2 separate regions of the Homo sapiens genome follow, and region 1 is linked to region 2. The links are contacts of gene promoters, found by promoter capture Hi-C in human tissues and cell types (Jung and others, 2019). All regions are on one chromosome and are shown on one strand. Each heading gives the region's core, a stretch centred on a gene start or on the middle of the fragment in contact. The rest is flanking DNA. Distances are from core to core; before and after follow the strand shown.

Region 1 (6,766 bases), core at 1,619-4,118, 1.0 Mb after region 2:
CAAACAAAGTCTCACCCAGCTGTATATTTAATTCTAGTTAATGTTATAAATAATGCTGTTTTATTTAATCATTCCCCATCATAAAAGGGCAATTTACTAGGGTATTTTTTATTTCAAAAACTATAACTTTTTCAAATATATCTCTCAATATATACCTTTAATATACATGCACACGCAGAGACAGCCAATTTAGGCAGAAGTAGGTGTCACTGAAATCAGTTGCTTTAGAAAAATAATGTAAACATAAGTCAATGCTTGCACTTCCACAGAAGCAGTGGTTTTTAAAAATCACAACTGGTCTTTGCACTATTGATTAGGGCTTTGCTTTTCTATATCTGTATGGGTTAATTCCACAAGCTTATATGATTATTAATGCCCCAAGTTAACATAAATATATGTGCTAAACTTGGCTTAAAAATGTATACCTAAAGTAACACAAAAAAAGCTCTGACAATGTTCCCCACTACCTGCAATCAAAGCTCAGACCCACTAGCCCTCTGATGGTCCTTTATCTGATCCATCATGTACATGCAAGGTATCAACTGGCATAAAATCTTCCTAATCTTATTAAGTGTACATCAAAATCTATATATGTGGAGAGCATCCAACACTGGAATTTAAATAACCTTCAGGATTTGAGCTAGGGGTTTTGCCAGGCATACCCAGAAATCTACCAGAGATAAAAATAAGCTGTAAAATGCCTTTGAAAGCTTGGTGGTAGAGAAAATGAAATTAAAAGAAAACTAAAAGGATCATAACACCTAAAACCTGCAAATGTTTTAATGAGAAATAACACCATTTTTGGCTCAAACAAATAACAACAGGATTAATAGTTGTAGATTTGTCCCTTCTACTGAGATCCTTTTTCAAATTATTTCAAAAAATGAGTATGTGAGAGATTGATTTTTAAAGCCATGTAAATTCTCAGAGACAATGCAGACTGACTTAATTATAATCAATAAAATCTACAGACATTGATGCAACCCAGCAGAAACACCGCTACCAAAAAGGCATAGCATAAAAGTCACCCTGTGGCTCCCTTTGTACACAACAGTAATATGACCTTAATAAATATTTCATTCCTTTCAGTGAATAACCAAGCATCAAGATAGCAAATTTTAATAGCTATGAAATAATATCATAATGACTCTACAAAGAAAATGCCTCCTTTAGAGAAAAGTAACCTTATTTTAAAGTGAAAGTTTTAGTCTTCATTTCCAAAACATACTCCAAATCAGTACACGATCATACATGAGTACACTCATCTATCTTCCTTGCCATACAGATTGAGATATTGCTTAAAGAGGTTTTTACAGGGTTATTTTTCTCACTATGGGAACATAAGAAATGTCTTATGGGAAAATATGTAAATTCTTTTTTTGTTTAGACAGAGTCTCACTCTGTCACCCAGGCTGGAGTGCAGTGGCATGATCTCAGCTCACTGCAACCTCCACCTCCTGGGTTCATGCCATTCCCCTGCCTCAGCCTCCCGAGTAGCTGGGATTACAGGTGTGTGCCACCTCGCCCGGCTAATTTTTTGTATTTTTAGTAGAGATGGGGTTTCACCGTGTTAGCCAGGATGGTCTCGATCTCCTGAACTTGTGATCCGCCCGCCTTGGCCTCCCAAAGTGTTGGGATTACAGGCGTGAGCCACTGCGCCCGGCCAGAAGGAAGGAAAAGATGTAAGTTCTTTAAGTACAAGAACACTATATTTATCCTCACACAAAGTAGGTCCTCAATAAACCCTCCTGAATTGACTGTAGGGAAGAGACAATAATCATGCTGAGAGAGCCTATACTCCCAGGTTTCTTTCATGAGTTAAAATTAACACCTAAGAGTCTATAAACTATAAGTAGTTTGGTAGGTGTTTCTTCACTAAGTACATTATCATATATTTACCCATATTTAAGAAAGAAACCTATGACTCCCAGGTTTCTTTCATGAGTTAAAATTAACACCTAAGAGTCTATAAACTATAAGTAGTTTGGTAGGTGTTTCTTCACTAAGTACATTATCATACATTTACCCATATTTAAGCCCATCTGCTATTTTTCTTCTCAGTTGGCCAGTGTGGGTGGATCTTCTGATACAGGGAAAAGAAATGAGTATGGAACACAGACGGAGCTGGGTTCAAAGCTCAACTCCAAAATGTAATGAATACATATCTCAGGCAAGTCATTTGGTGTGGACTTGGCATCCTCATCAAGGAAACAGTGGTAACAAAAGCTAATTTATAAGATTGGGATGAAGATTAAAGACAGCAATTTCAATGCGTCTGGCATAATCTCTCACATTATAGGTAGATATTGAATGGAAATGTACTATATTTTCCTATACAAATAGGTTTCCCTACTCTTTTCTTCCTTGTCTCTAAGAGTCCCCTATTAAAACAAAGCAATAATTATAATCCTACTATAAAGTAGATTTTCATACAGCATCTGGACAAAATTTTTATTTTTAATCCTAACTAGATTATTTGGAATAGCAGACTGGTTCTCATATCTATATACCCTTTCAATCATTCTAAAAGACTGTCTAAGCATAGTCTTCCCTAATAAAACAGTTTTGCCTTTTATCCTATAGCTTAACTATTTAATTATCGTAGTATTACTAAAGATTCCACTAACTTGCTCAGCCTGACAAAGTGATTACGTATTGGATTATATGTTGTAAAAGTTCCCATGCTTTTAGGTACTCAGTAGGCAGCCAACTCACAGACCCTAAACTTATCATAGTAATATTGAGGAGTAACCCTTCAGATTATCTGGGGTTCTTTTTTATTAACATCTAGATCATGAAAACCCAAATTTATAACCCCAAGAAGAAATGATCAGGACCAAATTGGCAGAAATATTTTTCTCAATTTATCTACATGTGATGACTTCCTGAATTTGTCAAGGACATTAAAGAACAGCTAACTCAGCAGTTAAGCTGCAGAAAGGTGTAAGCAAAAATATCACACGAGTCAATTTGCTGGAGTCAAACAGATATGGTTTTCCTTTAGTGCATTCTTAGCTGTGATTTGGAGTTCTTCAAACTTCCATGATTCTTGAGTTTAGTTAACTAAATACATACGTGGTTTGGTAGCACTTCAACTACATACATGCATATAGAATATACTTTTAATCAGCTTAAAATGGCTGCTTTTGTAAAGCATTTTGCAAGAATTTCCCAGTGTCTGAGTTAAGTATACAGATATTAATAAAAAGAGATTTCTTTCTAATAGAGATTACCAAAATCAGGTAACAATGATTTACAAAACAGGCATTTATCTCAGAATAAAAACAACTAAAGGGAAGTGTAGTTTATCCATCATTTTTAAAAAATAGAGTAATTCATATATTAAAATGTAATATAGCAGTACAGAAATAACATTAAATGGTATTTTCTTCTCTAGCTTCTCCACTAAAACTCTAAATAAACTTTTCCAAGAAATAAATTTATACAATGTTCCCTCAACAGTTTGCACATTGTTAGCAATGACCTATCGTATATATAATACGAAACCATTTAAACAAAAAAATAAAGCACTGGCTGCCTCTCCGACCCTCCTCCTTTCCACCCAAATGATACCTTCACTTTATAATCCCCAATCTGAAGATTTTTGATAAATACTGCAGGCCACAGGGTCTTCAGGTCCTGCAGTTGGGTTTCATGTTGAGTTAGCTGCTGTGCCAGACAGCAACTGTTCACTAGTAAGTGCAACAATGATTTCCCACTTCTTCACCATCTCCCACTGTAGAGGCTAGAAAGCTTGAGACATTTGGCTGGACGTGGTGGCTCACACCTGTAATCCCAGCACTTTGGGAGGCTGAGGTGGGCAGATCATGAGGTCAGGAGATTGAGACCATCCTGGCTAACATGGTGAAACCCCATCTCTACTAAAAATACAAAAAAATTAGCCGGGCGTGGCGGCGGGCGGCTGTAGTCCCAGCTACTCGGGAGGCTGAGGCAGGAGAATGGCGTGAACCCAGGAAGCAGAGCTTGCAGTGAGCTGAGATCACGCCACTGCACTCCAGCCTGGGCGACAGAGCAATACTCCATCTCCAAAAAACAAACAAACAAACAAAAAAAACACATAACAACAAAAAAAAGAAAGCTTGAGACATTTTCCCAAGCTTCCTTGCAGCCAGAATGACCCAGTTTTGGCCAGTAAATCATAAGGGATGTCTCCTGTGTAGTTTCTGGAAAAGTTTTCACTTTCCTGATAAATGGAATAAATAAGGCTAGTCTAATGTATCTCCTTCATTATCCTACCTTCAACATACATATGGCAACCATAAATGACAAGCACTTTTTTTTTTCAAGTCAACAAATGAAGCATGTCAGGACAGAAAAATGGAAAGTGTCTAAATTCTTGTTGGTATTAGTGAGCAAATAAAAACACTAGCTATTACTGCTGGACTCACTGCTATGTAAGAAAAAAAAATCTTTGTTTAGACCACTGTTAAACTAAAATTTTTCTTTCTTGCAGCCAACAGCATTCTCAAGATACAGCTGCAATTATTTAAAGCATCCTATGATTCATGTAAAAATCTGCACTTCCAGATTCTTAGGAAAAAATTAAAAGAACTGACAACACTGGGCCCAGATTTTCACACAGCACCAATTGGCTAGAGCCAAGGGGCCTCAACTGGGACTCATGGCCTTTCAATGGGACATGGGCTGTTGCTATGTCTATGGCCTACTTCATTCCTTTAGTTACCTCTCTAGATGCTCCAAGCATTTTAAGACCCCAGCATACAAAAATAGATACCATGCAGTATAAAAACAAAGCACCATTAAAACCAACAAAGTATTTTCTGTTTTGCTAGTTAGAATGCAGGTGTCCAGCATAATAGTCACAGTCTCACTTATAAAAGTATGTCTTTTTTTCTGACTACTAACTTTTTCAACAGGCACACCAATTTCGCTTCCATAGCACACCACCAGGTCACCAAAGAATGATGCAATACTAGTTAGGTCTAAAAACAATATCATGGTGACAATAATGATAAAAATAGCTACTATTTACTGGAACTATAAAATTCTAGGCAAAGTGCTGAATGCTTTACAAATACCATGATGTTTAATCCTTTACAAAAAAAACCAATTAGGTAGGTATATTAACTTTGCTTTAAAATAAAGTGAGTCTCAAAGAAAAGAACTGATCCAAAATGGCACAGCTAACAAGCAGCAGACAGAGAATTCAAATCTAAGTCTTTCTAAGACACATAACTCGTAACCACAGGTTATATTGCTTCACAAAGAAAAGACCAAAATTATTTGATTGTTTTTGAGAAACATTCCATAAAGTGTCTCAGATCCTACAACTTATTCCTATGTAGCTACATTCTAACATGAATATTATGTCAAGTATTTGATCTTTAATGCCCATTAGTATAAGTCTTTATTCCGGTATAGGATTTTTCTTTTTTCAAAAGGCACTTCCTTCTTAAGTGTAACTGACCTGGTACAGTTAAGTTCTTGAGATTCAAAAGTGACTCATTTCCAAAGCTCCACACATTAGCAGCTGATATTATTCAATCTGAGATTTAAATTTATAATGTACTCTTGATAATGTACTCCCAATACATTTTTCACTTCTCTCTTGAATGACACAAGATAAAAGATCTTTAAGGTATAAATATTTTATATAAACTTTCACTCTGTTTTTCCTCAGCCATTTTCCATTTGCAAACACTAGACATGCAAAAAAAAAAAAAAAGGTTGAAAGAGTTTTATGGATTATGTTGTGGGGGGTGGTGGCTGAGAACTGCTTATCCATTCTGCTGTGGCAGCAGACACCACAGCTACGGGCCTAACTGCCCTTGCTGGCTAATCAGAATGTTCCACCCTCCATGGGGTCTGATTCAGAGTACTGTTTTCCATGGGACAGATAGTGGGCTAAAAGGAACAAGTTCCCAGCATAATCTATCATGATAGAAACTAAGAATACGGATAGTGCCCGTGGAACCCTGGTACTAGGATGCCTCCTTCAGCCCAAAGGGTAAGGACACAGCCATCCCACCCAGGCCTTGGGTAAAAGAACACAGCCTTCCCAAGACTCAAGACCCCAGGTAAGCATGTGGCTTTTGGCAGATCATTTATAACTCTGTCTTTTCACATTTGAAACATGAAGAAGTTAACCCATCAAAGGTTTTCGAACTACGTGCACAGTTTCCCCCAGGGCCTTGCTTCTCAAAATGTGGCCAATGCATGTTTAACACATTAGGAGTTTATCTGAAATGCAGAGTCTCAGGTGCCTTCCCAGACACACAGAATCAGAATCTGCATGTAACAAGCTTCCCAGGTGACTCCTCGCTCTAGGGGCTGATTCCAACTGGGGCTGCTTCTGGGAGAAAGAACAGGTGGGCCAAAGTTATTAATAATATGGATCCAGTACTCGCATACTTTTCAACTTAAAAAAATAAATACATGTACATAGCTTCTCCACAGATTTGGTCCTGAAGGAAACATTCCTATTTAAATAATATTTGAAACCACTGGAGAAAATTATCTATGAGGTCCTTCATAACTACAGATGTCTATGACTTTATAAATTTACAAAATTGCTTACATTCACCACTTTAATCACTACCTGTTTTCTACATTAACTCATTTTGGAGCAAAATCTTCCATCATTTGTTACTAATATTATTATATGCAGAAACATGCTTTAATCTTTTCCTAAAGATATTATTAAGAACACAAGTTAAAGCGTTCCAATATAGTGAACACCCAAACAACTATTTAGGAATTTAAGTATACAGGATTATAGAGGGGT
Region 2 (6,819 bases), core at 1-2,500:
AAAAGTTATTACTTCCAAATCAATTTTTCCAGTCACATAATTAAACACTTTTTTTTTTTTTTGAGACGGAGTTTCGCTCTGCCGCCCAGGCTGGAGTGTAGTGGCCCGATCTCGGCTCACTGCAACCTCCGCCTCCCCGGTTCAAGCGATTCTCCTGCCTCGGCCTCCCTAGTAGCTGGGACTACAGGCGCGAGCCAACACACCCGGCTAATTTTGTATTTTTGGTAGAGACGGGGTTTCCCAAGTTGGCCAGGATGGTCTCGATCTCCTGACCTCGTGATCCGCCCCCGCCTCGGCCTCCCAAAGTGCTGGAAAATAACACGCCCGGCCCTCCATCTTTTTTTATTTGAGACAGTTTCGCCCCTGTTGCCCAGTCTGGAGCGCAATGGCGCGATCTCGTCTCAGTGCAACCTCTGCCTCTCGGGTTCAAGCGATTCTCCTGCCTCAGCCTCCTGAGTAGCTAGGATTACAGGCATGCGCCACCACGCCTGGCTAATTTTGTATTTTTAGTAGAGACGAGGTTTCTCCATGTTGGTCAGGATGGTCTCGAACTCCGACCTCAGGTGATCCGCCCGCCTCGGCTTCCCAAAGTGCTGGGATTACAGGCGTGAGCCACTGCTCCCGGCCCCTCCATCCTTTTTCTAAAGCTAGGACTTGTCAAGCACCACCTCATTTTCTTGACTTTATTTTTTCTTCACAGAACTACTTTCATGTTTCCAATTTGGGGATAGATAAGTCTTAGGAGAGTTTTTTTCTCATTGCGCCACGGACAGTAAGGGAAAGAGCAGGGAGTCAAGTGAGGGGGCCAACTGCCTGCCCCTACCCGGGCCCCACGCACGCACCCGGATCAGCCTTGCCTGGGGCACCTCGGGCCTCACGTACCTGGGCCAGCCTTACCCGGGGCACCCCGCGCCCTTCGCGCCTGGACCAGCCTTATCCGGGGCACCCTGGACCTCACGCTCCTGGACCAGCCTTACTTGGGGCGCTGCGGACCCCACGCGCCTAGACCAGCCTTACCCGGGGCACCCCGGACCCCACGCCCCTGGACCAGCCTTACCCGGGGCACCCCGGACCCCACGCGCCTGGCCCAGCCTTACCCGGCGCGCCCCGGACCCCACGCGCCTGGGCCAGCCTTACCCAGGGCACGCCGGGCCCCATGCACCCGGGCCAGCCTTACCTGGCGAAAAAGGAATCCGCCTGGACGACTGAGGAGCGAACAAAGTGAGGATGGAGCCTTGTAACTAAGGACTGAGAGGATTCCCGATCTCTGGGGCTGGCTCCTCCCCTCCTGGTGTGTCCCAACCCCCTCTGTCTACATACCCGCGCCTCCTCCCCGGAAATCGCATTCCGCCCTAAGCAATTGCTGACTTCCATTGCTGCCCCCCGACTGAGTCCAATTCCCTCTGTCTCCACCGTGCCTCCGCTTGAACGAGCCCCACCCCTCAGACCCGACTCCAGACTCAAATCTGAATAAAGGCACCACTAAAGCGCCTCATCACCCAGGCCTGAACCCCAAGGTCACCTCATTCCTTTTCTTCAACCCTCGCAGTTAATCCATTCCTAAGTCCTTGAATTTGCCGGCGTCTCTCCAACTCCACAGCTCCAGCCCAGTCCAAGCCCCCGTTGTCTCTCACCTGGATCACTGAAATCACCTCCAACTGCTCCCTGGCCTCTCCCACGACCCCTCTGTAATCCTTCTCCCCCTCCAATACTGTTCAGTGGCTTCCTGTTTCGGTTAAATTTCTACCTTCTCATTCTATCCGGACTGCCCCTTCAACATTGTCTTAGCACTACTCTTACAACAGAAACACTCTCTTTCTGTTCCTCAAAAAACACGGAACTACCTGCCTCAGGGCCCTTGCACTGGCTGTTTCCTCTGCGAGTTATTTTTTTCTTTTTCTTTCTTTCTTTCTTTCTTTTTTTTTTTTTTTGAGACAGTCTCTGTTGCCACAGCTGGAGTGCAGTGGCATGATCTTGGCTCACTGCAACCCCGGCCTCCTGGGTTCAAGCAATTCTCCTGCCTTAGCCTCCCAAGTAGCTGGGATTACAGGAGCACGCCACCACTCCCGGAAAATTTTTGTATTTTTTTTTTTTCTTTTTGAGACAGAGTTTTCTTATGTCACCCAGGCTGGAGTGCAGTGGCGCAATCTCGGCTCACTGCAACCTCTGCCTCCTGGATTCAAGCGATTTCTCCTGCCTCAGCCTCCTGAGTAGCTGAGATTACAGGCCCATGCCACCACGCCTGGCTAGTTTTTGTATTTTTAGTAGAGGGGGGTTTCACCATGTTGGTCAGGCTGGTCTTGAACTTCTGACCTGGTGATCCGCCCACCTCAGCTTCCCAAAGTGATGGGATTACAGGCGTGCGCCACCACGCCTGGCCACCTCTTTATTTTCCCAGTTCTTTCAGGATGGCTTCTGTTCATCCTCAGGTCTCAGGTCCAATGTTAACTCCTCTAACAGGCCTCCCAGACTACCCTTTCTACAGGAGCCAAACTCCCCATATCCCAATACTCTTTTTTTGTTTTATTTTTGTTTCTTAAGAGAGGGTCTTGCTCTCTAACAGAGACTCAAAGGTTCTGGGTGGTTGGACTCCCCAGGCCTGACTTGCAAGGCTCAGGTGGAACTTGACTTGCCCAAAGTCATGCAGCTAATAAGCAAAGAAGCCTCAATATCTGGTAGTTCAGTCAATACACAGCATATGAATAAACAAAGAGAATTCGGTCTTTTGCTTTTAATCCCTTATTTCTTCTTACTGCCTAAAATCCCAGCACTTTGGGAGGCTGAGGTGGGAGGATCACTTGTTCATAGTTTAAAACAAAGATGATAACAGCCCTTTCCCGAAACAAACCCTGGGGATTTAGACTGCCTTTGCAGTACTAACAAATTAGCCACAGGATTAGAAATTATGGTTTAGGAGTCATGCAGCTGGAGGCTACAAGACTCTGACTCTCCCCAAATGGCTTCTGGGGATAAGACCACTACTGCAAAACCTAAGACCAGGGAGATATTCCACAGATATTTTGCAGATCCTGCACTTGACGGATCAGCTGGTACCACCCAGATCAATAAACTGGCTGATATGATCTTGGTGGCCCCCACCCAGGAATTGATTCAGCGCAAGAAGACAGCTTTGACTCCCTATGATTTCATCTCTGATCTGACCAATCAGCACTCCCAGCTCACTGGCTTCCCCCCTCCCACCAAGTTGTCCTTAAAAACTCTGATCCCTGAATGCTTGGGGAGATTGATTTGAGTAATAAAACTCTGGTCTCCCACACAGCCCACTCTGTGTGAATTACTCTTTCTCTATTGCAATTCCCCTGTCTTGATAAATGGGCTCTGTGTAGGCAGTGGGCAAGGTGAACCCATTGGGCAGTTACAATCACACCACTACACTCCAGCCTGGGTGACAGAGCAAGACCTTGTCTAAAAAAAAAAAAAAAAAAAACTGGGCAAGGTGGCTCAAGCCTGTAATCCCAGCACTTTGGGAGTCCAAGGCAGGTGGATCACCTGAGGTCAGGAGTTTAAGACCTGAGGTAAGCCTGGCCAATATGGTGAAACCCCATCTCTTATAAAAGTACAAATATTAGCCAGGCGTTGTGGTGTGTGCCTGTAATCCCAGCTACTCAGGAGGTTGAGGCAGGCGAATCGCTTGAACCTGGGAAACGGAGGTTGCAGTGAGCTGAGATCGTGCCACTGCACTCCAGCCTGGGTGACAGAGCAAGACCCTGTCTCAAACAAACAAAAAAAACGAAAATTTGAACACTGACTGGATATTTGATGATATTAAGAATAACTGTTGGGCTGGGCGCGGTGGCTCACGCCTGTAATCCCAGCACTTTGGGAGGCCGAGGCGGGGCGGATCACGAGGTCAGGAGATCGAGACCATCCTGGCTAAAACGGTGAAACCCCGTCTCTACTAAAAAATACAAAAAAATTAGCCGGGCGTGGTGGCCGGCGCCTGTAGTCCCAGCTACTCCGGAGGCTGAGGCAGGAGAATGGCGTGATCCCGGGAGGTGGGGCTTGCAGTGAGCCGAGATCATGACACTGCACTCCGGCGTGGGCGACAGAGCGAGACTCCGTCTCGAAAAAGAAAAAGAATAACTGTTAATTTCAGTGTAATAAGATTACTGTGATTAGATTTTTTAAAGGTTAAAGCCTTCTGTTACTTAAGATCACGTGTTCTTGGGCTCTCAGTGCAATAGAAATTGACATGAGGCTGAAGGAGTGTTCCCATACAAGGCTTGTTAGAGCTTATGCACAGACATAACGGAGAGGACTACCTGACTAACTCTGCTTTATTAGACAATCAGGGGTAGAGTATGCAGGTTGGGCTGGGCAAAGCACATGAGGGGTAGAGTATGCGGGTCAGCCTTATCTGGTTTTGATGGCTTTATTGAGTAATGGATCACCCACCTGGTGGTCTGGCGAACAGCAACAAGGCTGTAAATCAATTGTTCAGCATTTCTTCCTGAGGTGGGACACTCCACAACCTTAGTTTAATATTTAGATTTCCTAAAGCCAGTTCCCGGAATTCTTTTAAGTAAAAGGCAAGGTTAAACATTATGGGCGGGGTGCGGTGGCTCACGCCTGTAATCCCAGCACTTTGGGAGGCGGAGGCGGGCAGATCACGAGCTCAGAAGATCGAGAACATCCTGGTTAACACGGTGAAACCCCGTCTCTACTAAAAATATAAAAAAATTAGCCAGGCTTGGTGGCTGGCCCCTGTAGTCCCAGCTACTCAGGAAGCCGAGGCAGGAGAATGGCATAGAACCCGTAAGAGCCAAGATTGCACCACTGCACTCCAGCCTGGGCGACAGAGCAAGACTCCATCTCAAAAAAAAAAAAAATTATGAAAGAGGTGCTGTGCCCCATCCTTATTATATTTCACTTCCAGCCCTATGCTACTAGATTTGGGGTAAAAAGACTGGGTTCTGGGTTCCAATGGGCCAATCAAGGCCTATTTATATGAAGAAGTGGAGCTGGCTGGTGGCAAAGGGAATAGGCTAGTGAGGTGGTGGTGTCCTACAGCAGAGGCCTTGATGCTGGTGCATGCTGCCTCTACGGTACTTGGAGAACTTCCAGCAGATAAGTTGGCCTAAACAGTTGCTTTGTTTTGTTTTGTTTGTCCACTGAAGCATTTTATTTGTACATGTGTATTACATCCCTAGAAAAAGAATTCCAGGATTTTACTCGCTGTGTGTTTTCATTTTGCTTCTTCATGGCCCATGATGTCAGGTGAGGTTGTCAGTACAATGAAACCAAACAGAGGGGAAGGGAAGAGATTATTCTGCCATTTTTCTAGATCTTTGAGTTATATGTCGAATCTGGGCCTGATCACTGCACACTTGTGTAACCTTGTCTGAGAGATTCTCAACAATTTTCCCAGCTCTGTGATCATCGATGACCTCAAATTTGCCAATGTTCAAATTTGAACATTTGAACATGCTTCATCATCAGAGTGAGAAACCAGATGTTGTCTTTGGAGCAAAGCCTAATAAGAACCTAGCCTTTGCCTCTCTCTTCAGCATTGTTGATGCTCTTGAGAACATCTGCCAGGACATTTATGTGCACCATTATGGTGGCACAGTAAGACGGCAGAAAGAGCTTGTTGTTGTTGTTTTTAATTATTATTATTTTTTTTGAGACGGAGTTTTGATTTTGTTGCCCAGGCTGGAGTGCGATGGTGCAATCTCGGCTCACTGCAACCTCCACCTCCCGGGTTCCAGCGATTCTCCTGCCTCAGCCTCCCAAGTAGCTTGGACTACAGGCATGCACCACCATGCCCAGCTAATTTTTGTATTTTTGGTACAGTTGGGGTTTCACCATGTTGGCCAGGGTGGTCTCAAACTCCTGACCCCAGGTGATCCACGCACCTCGGCCTCCCAAAGTGCTGGAGTTACAGGCGTGAGTCAACATGCCTGGCCTTTTTAAAAAATATTCATGAAGTATTGTAAAATTCTGTCCATTAGTAACTAATATTTGAGAACATTTACAATATTAATGGAATTTAAAGATAAGTTAGATGTATGTTTTATTTTACATTTCAATACATCTTAATAGGAGATAAAAATAATTACGGTCACAATTATAATGGCAAAAACATATAAATGTTTGGTGTTAGAATATCTATATACAATTCAGTTTTTGGTATAAAGTTCTTGGTTGCCAAAAAGAACATTAGGTTAACTTCATTAACAGGAATATGTGTTAATGCTGGTATGGCTTCTTGGTATTTTTTTCGTTTGTTTTGTTTTGTTTTGTTTGAGACGGAGTCTCGCTGTGTCGCCCAGGCTGGAGTGCAGTGGCGGGATCTCGGCTCACTGCAAGCTCCGCCTCCCGGGTTCACGCCATTCTCCTGCCTCAGCCTCCCCAGTGGCTGGGACTACAGGCGCCCGCCACCACGCCCGGCTAATTTTTTGTATTTTTAGTAGAGACGGGGTTTCACCATGTTAGCCAGGATGGTCTCAATCTCTTGACCTCGTGATCCGCCCGCCTCGGCCTCCCAAAGTGCTGAGATTACAGCGCCTCGGCCTCCCAAAGTGCTGAGATTACAGGCCTGAGCCACCGCGCCCGGCCCTTGGTATTTTTTTCGCTGTTAATTTTTGGAATAGTTGCGTATGATTTTACGAATGGAGTTGAGTGGAGAGAGAGATACTCATTACTTTAGTGCCAAAAAAGAGTACATAACTGGTTACTATAGTACTAAGGAGGTAGACAGGTAATGCAACTGCCCAGTATTTTTGAAGCCAATAATTTAAGCATGAAGAATTTTGCCAAGATTCAGGAGCCAAAGTCCATAGTAGACAAGGCATGAAG

Evidence for each region. Contacts are between HindIII fragments. The study calls those that stand out against the background at their distance.
Region 1: a fragment that was not itself captured here is called in contact with the fragment with the promoter of L1TD1 in region 2 in 1 of the 25 tissues and cell types used here (hippocampus).

What each region holds. Positions count from the first base shown.
Region 1 is chr1:61,161,759-61,168,524 of GRCh38, reverse strand. The region is part of intron 2 of NFIA (nuclear factor I A); the gene reads right to left. Among named protein-coding and RNA genes, the nearest start is that of NFIA, 83 kb to the right of the region's middle. The HindIII fragment of the contact is 4,667 bases long and covers 535-5,201 here.
Region 2 is chr1:62,189,280-62,196,098 of GRCh38, reverse strand. L1TD1 (LINE1 type transposase domain containing 1) reads right to left here and starts at 1,250. Exons shown (of 4, transcript NM_019079.5): 1 at 1,178-1,250. It also overlaps the pseudogene PIGPP2 and the pseudogene RPS15AP7. RefSeq lists enhancers at 395-1,250, 1,251-2,107. The HindIII fragment of the contact is 18,338 bases long and covers 1-6,819 here.